3 separate regions of the Homo sapiens genome follow, and all the other regions are linked to region 2. Evidence: promoter capture Hi-C in 16 types of primary human blood cells and fetal thymus (Javierre and others, 2016). All regions are on one chromosome and are shown on one strand. The core of a region is centred on a gene start or on the middle of the fragment in contact, and the rest is flanking DNA. Distances in the headings are between cores, read along the strand shown. Region 1 overlaps ST7 (suppression of tumorigenicity 7). Region 2 holds the start of LSM8 (LSM8 homolog, U6 small nuclear RNA associated). Region 3 overlaps ST7 (suppression of tumorigenicity 7).

Region 1 (3,210 bases), core at 452-2,951, 1.1 Mb before region 2:
CTTGGCTTTTCTAAGTTAAAGTCCTTTTGTTCTAAATTTCTGTGGTCCTGGTATAATAAAGAGGTATGACCTATTAGGATGTGCTAACATGATGATATTAGTATGATGATTAGTATATGTATCTGTGCAAGTAAATGATATTAAAATGCTTTGAGACAATTTCTTTTAATTGCATTTCTTCCTACAATATGGTAATCTTATTAATTTTCTTATTCCTTTCCTGTAAGGCAAAAGCAAACTGGTAAATTATCATAAAATCACTGTTAGCATGAACCCAAATTAAGACTATAAGGCTGTTTGCATATTATACTCTATAGTTTGTCTTGTCATGTACAACGTTATTATGAGGTATGTTTTAGACTGACAGAAAATAGTTTTACTTCTGCCTATACTTTTATCTATAAGGTTTTAGAAGTAAATTCATAGAATCAGTTTGGACCTCTTGAAATAATTTTAGGAGTTATGAACTAGCTGATTTTGGCATGCATCTTGATTTGGCAAGTGAGGAAACTCAGGCCCAGAGAGATTAGGCAAAACTTTCCAAAGTCCCGGAGCCTGAGCCACATTTTGTGATTAACCACCCAGAGTTTTTCCACATTGCTTCCCATGTAAAGGGTAGTGAATAGAATTATCTTATCAAATGGCAGGAAGGGTGTTTTGCTGAATTAATTAGCTTGTAGTGTCACTGAACTTACGCGTAACATTTTCATATTTCTCTTTGTTGCAGAATGCAAAGTATGGCGAAATCCACTAAATTTATTTAGGGGTGCTGAATACAATCGGTAAGCATTTTGACAGCTTGGGAAACAAATGGGTCTGGTTCAGAGAGCAAAGACAGCAGCAAATGTTTTTGCTGGTTCATTTAGGGGTCATTGTAACAGTCTATGTAGTGCGTCCATTTTTTAATACTATCTTCAAATGTTTTGATTTTTCTGTTTTATAAATATTTTAGCACTAGATTTGGGATAATGTACAAAAATGTGTAGTTTTTAGAGTTTTTGTATTAACAGTTATTCTTTTCAATATATACTATACATTGAAAACATTTTGAAGCTTACCTGGAATATGGTTATAGAGATGTCGCAGAAGTTATGTTGGAATTTAGTTTAGCAAAGTAATTAGGCAAATTAGAATTTTCATAGCTTTAGGAAAGTGTCTATTCATAATATGAATTAGGGAAGGTTTTCATTAGCAAGGGCTAGTAAATTTTAAGACAAAAACACAGGAGAAAATGTTTATTTCTTTTGACTGATATAATTCCTGAAGGGAGAATAAGATGATTTTTAAAAATTTTTTTTATTCATTAGCAAAGCTATTTTAGTATTCAGTTAATGGTCTATATTTCAACGCCTCTGCAGCTTAATATTTTATAGGTCTTGCTTTTCTCTCTCAAAAGTGTCTAATCATCTTATTTCTCCTTTGCAGGTATACTTGGGTGACAGGACGAGAGCCTCTTACTTACTATGACATGAATCTCTCTGCCCAAGACCACCAGACATTCTTTACTTGTGACTCGGACCATCTGCGTCCCGCAGATGCAAGTATGAAAAATCCATACATCCTTCTGAATGGGAGGGCTTTTTGGCTTAAGTGTCAAGATTTCTGCTTTTAGAATATCCACTCTGTAAAACTCCAATGAATAAAATATTAAATTGTTGATTGACTAATAAGAACCCAGAACTCTGATAATTAAGTAAACCTTTATCACAATGAAGTATTTATGTTGAAATGAGTCCCCTCATAATAATTTGAATCATGATTTTTAAAAATATATCGAAGTTGGTTTTATATATTTTAAAGAAATATGAATCTTATATGAAGCTAATGAAGTTCTTGGTTGAGTTAGCATGAAGGCCTTATCTCCTTTATGATATTCAAAGTAGAAATTGGAATTTACTGGATTCAGATGATTAATGAATATATTTTAGTGACTTTTATTTGCCTATTTATAGGTTAACTAGCATCGAATGGGGTCATGGCCTTGGCTATTGGAGTCTAGATGTGTGTTCCATCTGAGAAAATACTTTGTTTAGTGTGTATTTTACATTACTTGAGTTTCAGATAATTCAACTGAAATTTTTTGTTATAAAATTTATTCAAAGTAAATAGGTGAAAAAATGTTTTTGAAAGGGAACCTCTACACACTCTAAAATAATTTATAAAATACAAATTTATAAAATAAATAAGGAGATTGTTACTCCTTTGTAAAATGGTACTCTTTGCTATGGTAGAAACATCATGGTACAGTAAATATTCCCATTGAGCTTCCCACCATATGTTCAGAAACTGCTCTGATGTATAAAAGCTAGGTTTGCAGGTAAATTTGGGATATAAGTACACATGTTAAGCAAAAGCTTAAGCATTTTTTACTGACCCACGCATAATTCTTGAAATGGTTTCAGAATGTTCTAACACCAAGAGTCTGTGTTAAGTGCTTCGGAAAATGACCAATTATGTTGTATCTAAGTGAATGAAAAGGTTGGTAGCAATGTCATCTCAAAATGCATAAAATATATTCTCCAAGAACAAATGACATTAATGTGCAAAAGACACGCAAAATCTCTGTTAGAGTGCCTTTTCTTGATTTCCTTAGCCTGTAGTTTTGTGAGCACAAAAAAGGTTTGCTATCAGCAGTTGAAATACTGTGGAATAGCACATTAATACACTAATATGACTTTGGAGATTTTGGCCAACCCTCTTAGCAATGAAATATGTTCTTGTAATTTAAGCTGACACTCCTAATTTAGCTCTTGTCCTCTACTGAGTCTACCTAATTATATGTATGGATTGACTTGGTGTTTTCTCTTTTTCTTAAATAGTAATGCAGAAAGCCTGGAGAGAGAGAAACCCCCAAGCTAGGATTTCTGCAGCTCATGAAGCCTTGGAGATAAATGAGTAAGTGGGGGAAAATCTTGCTGTTAAAAAGGAAATCTCATCCTTTGCTGAATATATTCAGTTGCCATTGATAGGATACTTAAATTAAACTGCATTTGAACTGGAGGATTATTTGGGGAGTTATTACTCTATTTAAAAAAGTTTTTTTTTTAAATGAAGGACAGCCACCATGTGGAGGTGGTTTTAGTCATTTTATGAATTCAATGGCTTTGCTGTGATCCTAAATTAATTTCTTGAAGGGCTATCCCTAGGATATTGTGAGGATATAAAATAAATACAATTCTTTACATATCTAAAACATTCTGACAGGGAAAA
Region 2 (3,443 bases), core at 57-2,556:
ATCTTTGTTCTTTCATTAGCGGAAGACACTTTCATTTGTTACCCTGAGAATATGAGACATTCACAATCTAATTCCTGACTACATTTGATTTCAAACAGATAGGAATAAGTTCCAGAATATAAAATATTAACTATTTGGGAGTATCTTGTGGGTATGCTCTAATTAAGAAATGCTTCCTTTTCCGAGGAAAACTGCTGACATTGCAAGAGTTATTACAAAGCCACAAATCTTAAGAAAATACATGTTTAACTGAAATTATAAAGATATTTTGCAAAAAAGGGAAATCGCTCCTGCTGGTGTTTTGTGTATAAATCTCTTTCTAACTTCAAGCTCTCTCAAGTTAGGGCAACAGTAAATGAAGTGGGAACAGTATCGCATTGGGAAATATCTGAAATGATACCTATGGGACTATCTAACGAAACTGAGGCCCAGAAGAATTGAAGTGACCTGTGCAATGACACCAATTTGTTAGCAGAGCCAAGATTAGAACCAAGTTTGGTGCCTTCCTGCATCCTTCCTGCATCGGTCCTTTCTCGGTGCTGCAGCAGCCTTTTACTTACTAATTTCACCCTGAAGAAAGGTAGACCATCCTGGCGTGGCAGAAGCGTGGACATTCGTTTTCTAAGGGATGGTCACACACCTTTGCCTATTTGCATTTAGTTTCTTTAAAAAGTAAAAACACCTCCATTTTGGAACACTTTTAGAGACAAAAGCAGAACATACGAAAGTGTATTTCACTGCTGAGTTCTTAAGAGGCGTACACCGTGTGGTTATAACGTGCGCAACTCTGTCCCGGGCAACTGAACTTATTTTTAGCGTTATTTTCGGCTTCTGCTGCAGAAAACTAGGGATTCAACTACCCGCACCTACGTTTCACACAACAGCACTCGTCTCTCTCCTTCACTCCTAATAAAAACACCTTACTTCGTTTATTCCTGCCTGCTCTACCTCGTCTCAACATTTTCTCTTGTTAACTTCCACCACACTGCCTTTTACTCGGATTGGAAACCCACTCTCCCCCAACTTCTGTCTCATACCCCCAACTTCTGTCTCATACCCCCAACTTCAGGAAGCGTCTTCCTTTTTTCCGCCTCTCGTTCGCTTTTGTCTTACGAGGCTTCCGGAACACGGCCCAGAATTACAGAGAAAACACACTGCGCACGCGCACTCTCTCGTCACCGCTGTGCGGCTTCTGTTTGGTTGGCCAGTTCGTCCCAATTTCCGACTCACAGGGCTGCGGAGCAGCAACTCTCACGATATTTGCTGCGACCCGCAGGCGCTATCCGCTGCCGGGTTCTGGCGCGCCCTTTCAGTTCTGCTTGCTGTCGGCACCGCTGCGTTACCCGGAACCGCCGGGCCGAACAGCATGACGTCCGCTTTGGAGAACTACATCAACCGTATCCTCAAGCTGGCCGCCGCGGGCGTGAGCCGGGGTCGCGGAGAGGCCGCGGTCGGGGATCGGTGGGAGGTTGGGAGGCCTGGCCTCGGCGGGATCCTGGGGGCGGGCGAGGAGATGAGGGCCCCGGAACGACCCAGAGTTCGCCGGCGGCGCCTCGAGCCTTCCCGCTGCTGCGGGCCCAGGGGTCCTTTCCATTTTGCCTGCAAAACCCAAATAAAAACCCAGTGTGATTATTCCGAACTTTTCTGTCTTAAAAAAAATGTACGCTCTTGATTCTTACTTACTATTTCCCTATGGCATAAGTGTTAAAGTTTGTGAATAAGATGAACAGTCGTCCTGGCGGCGACAACAGTTTTGCAAATCTTTGTACTTGTTTTATTCACATAATTTGCTCGTTCGAGGATAGCAAAAAGTTTAACGATGGTTCACAGACTGTTTCTGTCCCTTTACCACTTGAAGTCCCAACTTGTTGGTAGAATGAAAAAAAATGGTTGCTGTTGTAATGGATTATAGTGAGGAGCAAGTAACAACCCCATGGGAAGTCTTAAAATAGACTTTACAAGTGTTACCGTTTTAAAGTCTTAGGACAAAAACACTACGTTAAGCTCAGGTACAAACTGGGTGACAAAAATTAAATACCGAATGCTTTTAATGATGCGTTATTGGTACCCTGTGACACTGCTTATATAGTTTCTTTACTTTTGAATTACAGAAGCCTGTCCTGGAAGACAGTTTTTTAACATGCTGGAAAATCGTCCAACATCGATTAATTTAGTACTCATCCACTTTTCATTTTAGAAATAAACAGGCCTAAGAAACGAAATATCCTGCCTGAAATAATAGATTGGTAACCTTCCTAGTAGAAAAGTGTCAAAAATCCAGGATATTTTGAGATAAGATACACCGATCACATACAGAAAGAGGTTTTCTTTTTCTATTTTTTCCCTTTTTTAATCATGTAATTATCACAAAGACAAAAACAGAAGCTTTTTTTAAGTTTTTTTTTTTTTTTCTTTTTTTGAGTCGAGGGTCTCACTCTGTTGCCCAGGCTGGAGTGCAGTGGCTTGATCATGGCTCAATGCAACCTTGAACTCCTGAGCCCAAGCAATCCTCCTGCCTCTGCCTCTGCCTCCTGAGTAGCTGGGACTATAGGTCACCAGGCCAGGGTAATAGAGATGGGGGTATCGCTGTGTTGCCCAAGCTGGTCTCACCTCAAGTGATCCTCCTGCCTTGGCGTCTAAGAAACTTTTAACGTTTTTATGTAGTGAACTTAGTGGCTGTGTTGAATACTTATACCTAGTTGTCATATTTATTCTAAAAATTCAAATCATTCCCTTGCCAGAGTCTGTTTTCAATTTGCATTCCCTAAGAAACACTTTCTTTGATTCAGTTATCAGGAACTGTTGCCGTTATTACATCAGATGGGAGAATGATTGTGGTAAGTCTTTGGAATTTTCATTCTCTGCTTTCCTGTAGGTTTATTGGTTGCAAGTTTTATGTGAAACCTCTAATCTCTAATGCCTAGACAGCACATTACACCCGTAGTGCAATTTTATTATAATTCAGCTCTTTATCACTTTGCTGTCAATCCATGTTTTCCTCACTAATAAACATTGTGTGTTACCTACAAGGTTTCTCGGAGCTAGAATAATAGATTCTGCCCTCAGAGAGCTCCTAGTCTGTAGACCTTTATTAAACTTACTTTTCTTCTTCCATTTTTATTTCCTTCCCCATTCAGCACCACATGAATCAGAATTTTTTTGAAATTTTGCATATGCTTAGTAACTTTTTAATGATTTAGATACTATTAATATCTAGATAACATTTAAGGCTTGTATACAATCTTAATATTCTTTGTTTTTAGGTTGTGTGACATGTCTTCTGTAGGACACATTATGATGATTGACTCTCTATATATACACATATATATGTAAAATTGGCTTGTTCCTTGAAGTTGTTTCTCCCTTGCTAATTTATGTCATATAACTAAGATAAAACGTTCCTATAGTGATACTTGTATTTGGAATTTGATCTGAGGAATTCA
Region 3 (3,404 bases), core at 631-3,130, 1.0 Mb before region 2:
CATTTTGGGGGATTTGATTAGATCCCTCTTAAAATATAGTTGGTGAGGAACTTCAGGAAGATAAAATCTAATTGATTTCAGAGAAACTGTGACTATAACAGTCTTTGCAGAATACAGAATGTAGTGTCTTGTGTGTTTAATTTATATGTCTATAGATCTCTGCTTCTTCCCTGTTTTACTCAACACTGTTTTTCAATCTGTCCATTTTTGCTCTATGTACCTCTTGCATCTAGTTTGCAGTTTCTAACTGCTGCATCATATTCCATGTTGTGTTCTTACTCTATTTTACTTAACCTTTCCTCTAGTGAAGGAACTCCAGGTTTCTTCCAACTTCCTGTTATCCCAGCAGTGCTGCAATGAACATCCTTGTAGACATGTGAGAAACATTCATTAGGCTGTGGGATTATATACGTGCTAGATTCCAGTGAGTCCTGCAATTTCACTCTTCAGAATGGCTGCCTATGATTAAATTCTTACGAGCAATACCTGACTATGCCCATGTATCTCAGTACTAGGCTCTGCTTCAAGCACGTCTATATTTAATATACATATTTATATATTTTAAAAATTTATTACATATAGCTTTTCATGATGTTATTTCATAATTTAAAAATACTATGTAGTTTTTTTCTTCCTTTTCATTTTGTATTTTATTTGGCTAGTTTTTACTCTTATTTTGCCTGATTAGTCTTGGCAGAGGTTGTCTATTTTGCCAGTCTTTTAAAAACAATTAGGTTTAGTTTATTTCCTCAACTTTTTTGTTTTTATTCTGTTTTTTCTTTCCATATTTGTATTATTGTTTCTTCTCCTCCTCATCCTTCTCCCCCTCTATCCTCTGTGTTTGTTGCCTTTTTACCATTTGATCCTAAGCATTTTTAAATTTCTTTTAAATTTCATTTTACCCTGTATAGTATGTTTTACCCCTCGTCATTGATTGATTTTTTTCTTTACATTATGCTTAGAAAGCATACATCATATGATATTGATTTGGGGAGAATTTATGGTCACTTCCCCTGAGGCCTAGCATATGGTCAGGTTTAATAAATGTTATATCTGTGTTTGAAGGGAATATAATCCCTGTTGGGTATAAAGATTTGTATGTATTTACTAGTTTGAGCTTATAAACCATATTATTCAAATCTCATATATCAGCTTATTTTGTCTCTTTGCTCTATCAGTTTCTAAGAAGAATGTGATAGAATATTCACCTCCAACTGTTTATTAATCTGTTTTTTGCATGCTCAGTTATTTGTTCCTTTATATATTTTGAGGTTTTGTTGTTGGGTGCGTTTATGTTGGTGATTATTATGACTTACTGATATGTTATTATGAGTATATAATGTCTCTTATATTTATCTTCCTTGAATTTTTTAACATATGTTAAGAATACCTACTCTAACTTATTGTGATTCATATTTAACTGGTTTATTGTTGTCTAAATTTTATAATCAAGCTTCCTATAAGTTTTTGATGGATCATTTGGATCTGTAAAATTTTTGATGAATATTGTCTTTATTCAAATCTGAGGGTTTTATACTTTTGATTGCTATGTTTATCCCATTCGTGTTTATAGAGAGTAACAGAATAATTACTGCTTTTTTTGAGCGTGTGTGCTGTCTTTCATGTTTTCTATGTCGTACTTTCTCTCCCATTGAAAATATCTTCCACTGATTCAACATTTTAAATTTCTGTTTTATTCTTCTGATATTCCCAACTCACTAAGATCCATACTTATATTTATGGTTCTTGATCAGTTACTAAGCCTATCACTATGTCAATATCTATAAATTATTCCCAAATGATAGAATTAATTTAGCATATGGTGCCCTGCTTCCCACCCTAAATCAGGAGGCAACCATGGACATTTGTGAACAGCTTTTCCTTCTGTGAGATGTGTGGGGAGCACTGATGTCTGAGTTTCTGCTGGGCTGGCAGGGTTGCTTCTGTGAGCAGAAGCCAGTGAAGTTGTTGATTTCTAGGGTAAGCAGAGAGGTGATCACTGGAAACAGACTTATTTCAGACCTGGGCCACCAGGAACAGAAACCAGAAAACAGGCAAAGCCAGCAATGCATGCGATGACCAGGGAGGACAATGAATTGGGTCTCCTGGGTTTCCCTTTTAAATAATCAATGCAAAAGCGTTGATCATATCCTTCTTCCTGGACCGCTATCTCTACTGCTTGTTAAGAGCAGATACCCTGGTTAGCCTTTGCCCTCTCCTTGGGCCTGGGGAAGTTACCTTTGTGACTCAAGAATCCTCAGGTACACAAACCTGCTTTCTGGGACCTCCCACTGAGCCATTTAAATACAAGCTTAGGCTCTAGTAGGACATCTTTACTCTTTCACCAGTAAAATCATTACTGCCTAAACAGAGTAAAGATAGTTACCACCGACCTTCCTACCCCTAAACACCCATTTCTTTAAATCAGGTGGGCTGTCCTTACAGCTTAATGTATCACTGTCCCATTTTCCACTCTTGATTCATGATTTCTTATTGTTCCATGGAGGGTCAGGAGGGGCCCTTCTCAAGTTTTCATTGGAGAGATGCTCTCTGCTCCTACTCTGATGGGCTCCTCTGGCATTTAGGTGTGTAGAGGTATTCTCACCCTCCAATTTTTGCTATATGCAAGTATTTCATTTTATCACCTTGACTGTCCGTGTCCTACCTTTTTTTTTTTTTTTTTTTTTTTGAAGGCATTGTTTTTTGAGCCCATTGACATTTTATTCTAATTTGGATGGATAGCTGTGGTTTTTTTGTTTTTCTTAAAACTTGGTTCTGCTTCTTTTACTGTGTCTTTCCTCCTTTTTCTTTTTTTAATTGGAGGAACTTACTTCAGAAGTCTAGTTATCCTTGGCTAAATGTTAACATTTAAAACCAAGCACCAAAAAGCTTTTGGAGGCTGTATGTTTCTATCTAGGGATGATTGCCTGATAGGGTTTACTTGTGGTTGCCCGGGCAACTGGCTTATCATTTAATCACACACTGCCCTCAAATGTCAGTACCTGGATCTTTTTTTCTGTGGTGGTTCATTTCCTCCATGGAAAGATCGTCAGGTCTTTTCCTTGTGGACTATACACCTGACTGCCAGTGTTTCTGGGATCAGGTTGGGAGACAGAGCTGTGTCGTTCATTATCCAGACTGTCACCTTAATTATTCTGTTGTTAGCACCAGGCCTCGCTCAGTCCCTCACTCTGCCTGATATCCCTGGTTTCGTGGTTGTCTGAGGTGGGAAGGAGAAACTGGAGTGTCTAGTCACTATGGGTATAGACTTAAACCCAGTCTTGTTCTCTGGCTTCTTCTGTGCCTCATGCCTTCAAGTGCTGAGGTCCTCAGGGATTCTGTTTCCTTTTTGTTTGAATCTCTCCCTGAAAGTATTTTAGGAGGTAATGTTGTCCACTCTTTTC

Evidence for each region. Contacts are between HindIII fragments. The CHiCAGO score rates a contact against its expected background, and 5 or more counts as called.
Region 1: a contact is called between a fragment that was not itself captured here and the fragment with the promoter of LSM8 in region 2, in 2 of 17 cell types (activated CD4 T cells and total B cells). The highest score is 6.7, in activated CD4 T cells.
Region 3: a contact is called between a fragment that was not itself captured here and the fragment with the promoter of LSM8 in region 2, in 1 of 17 cell types (monocytes). The highest score is 7.0, in monocytes.

What each region holds. Positions count from the first base shown.
Region 1 is chr7:117,129,066-117,132,275 of GRCh38, forward strand. It overlaps ST7 (suppression of tumorigenicity 7), which reads left to right. Exons shown (of 16, transcript NM_001369598.1): 4 at 728-782; 5 at 1,426-1,541; 6 at 2,820-2,895. All of the region lies in intron 2 of ST7-AS2 (ST7 antisense RNA 2), which reads right to left. Among named protein-coding and RNA genes, the nearest start is that of ST7-AS2, 15 kb to the right of the region's middle. The HindIII fragment of the contact is 1,301 bases long and covers 1,052-2,352 here.
Region 2 is chr7:118,182,858-118,186,300 of GRCh38, forward strand. LSM8 (LSM8 homolog, U6 small nuclear RNA associated) reads left to right here and starts at 1,307. Exons shown (of 4, transcript NM_016200.5): 1 at 1,307-1,397; 2 at 2,797-2,837. The coding sequence starts at 1,367. It overlaps LOC105375470 (a long non-coding RNA gene), which reads right to left and starts at 1,111. Exons shown (of 4, transcript XR_927904.3): 1 at 1,058-1,111. The HindIII fragment of the contact is 4,305 bases long and covers 1-2,383 here.
Region 3 is chr7:117,146,927-117,150,330 of GRCh38, forward strand. The region is part of intron 9 of ST7 (suppression of tumorigenicity 7); the gene reads left to right. Among named protein-coding and RNA genes, the nearest start is that of ST7-AS2, 3.0 kb to the left of the region's middle. The HindIII fragment of the contact is 858 bases long and covers 1,452-2,309 here.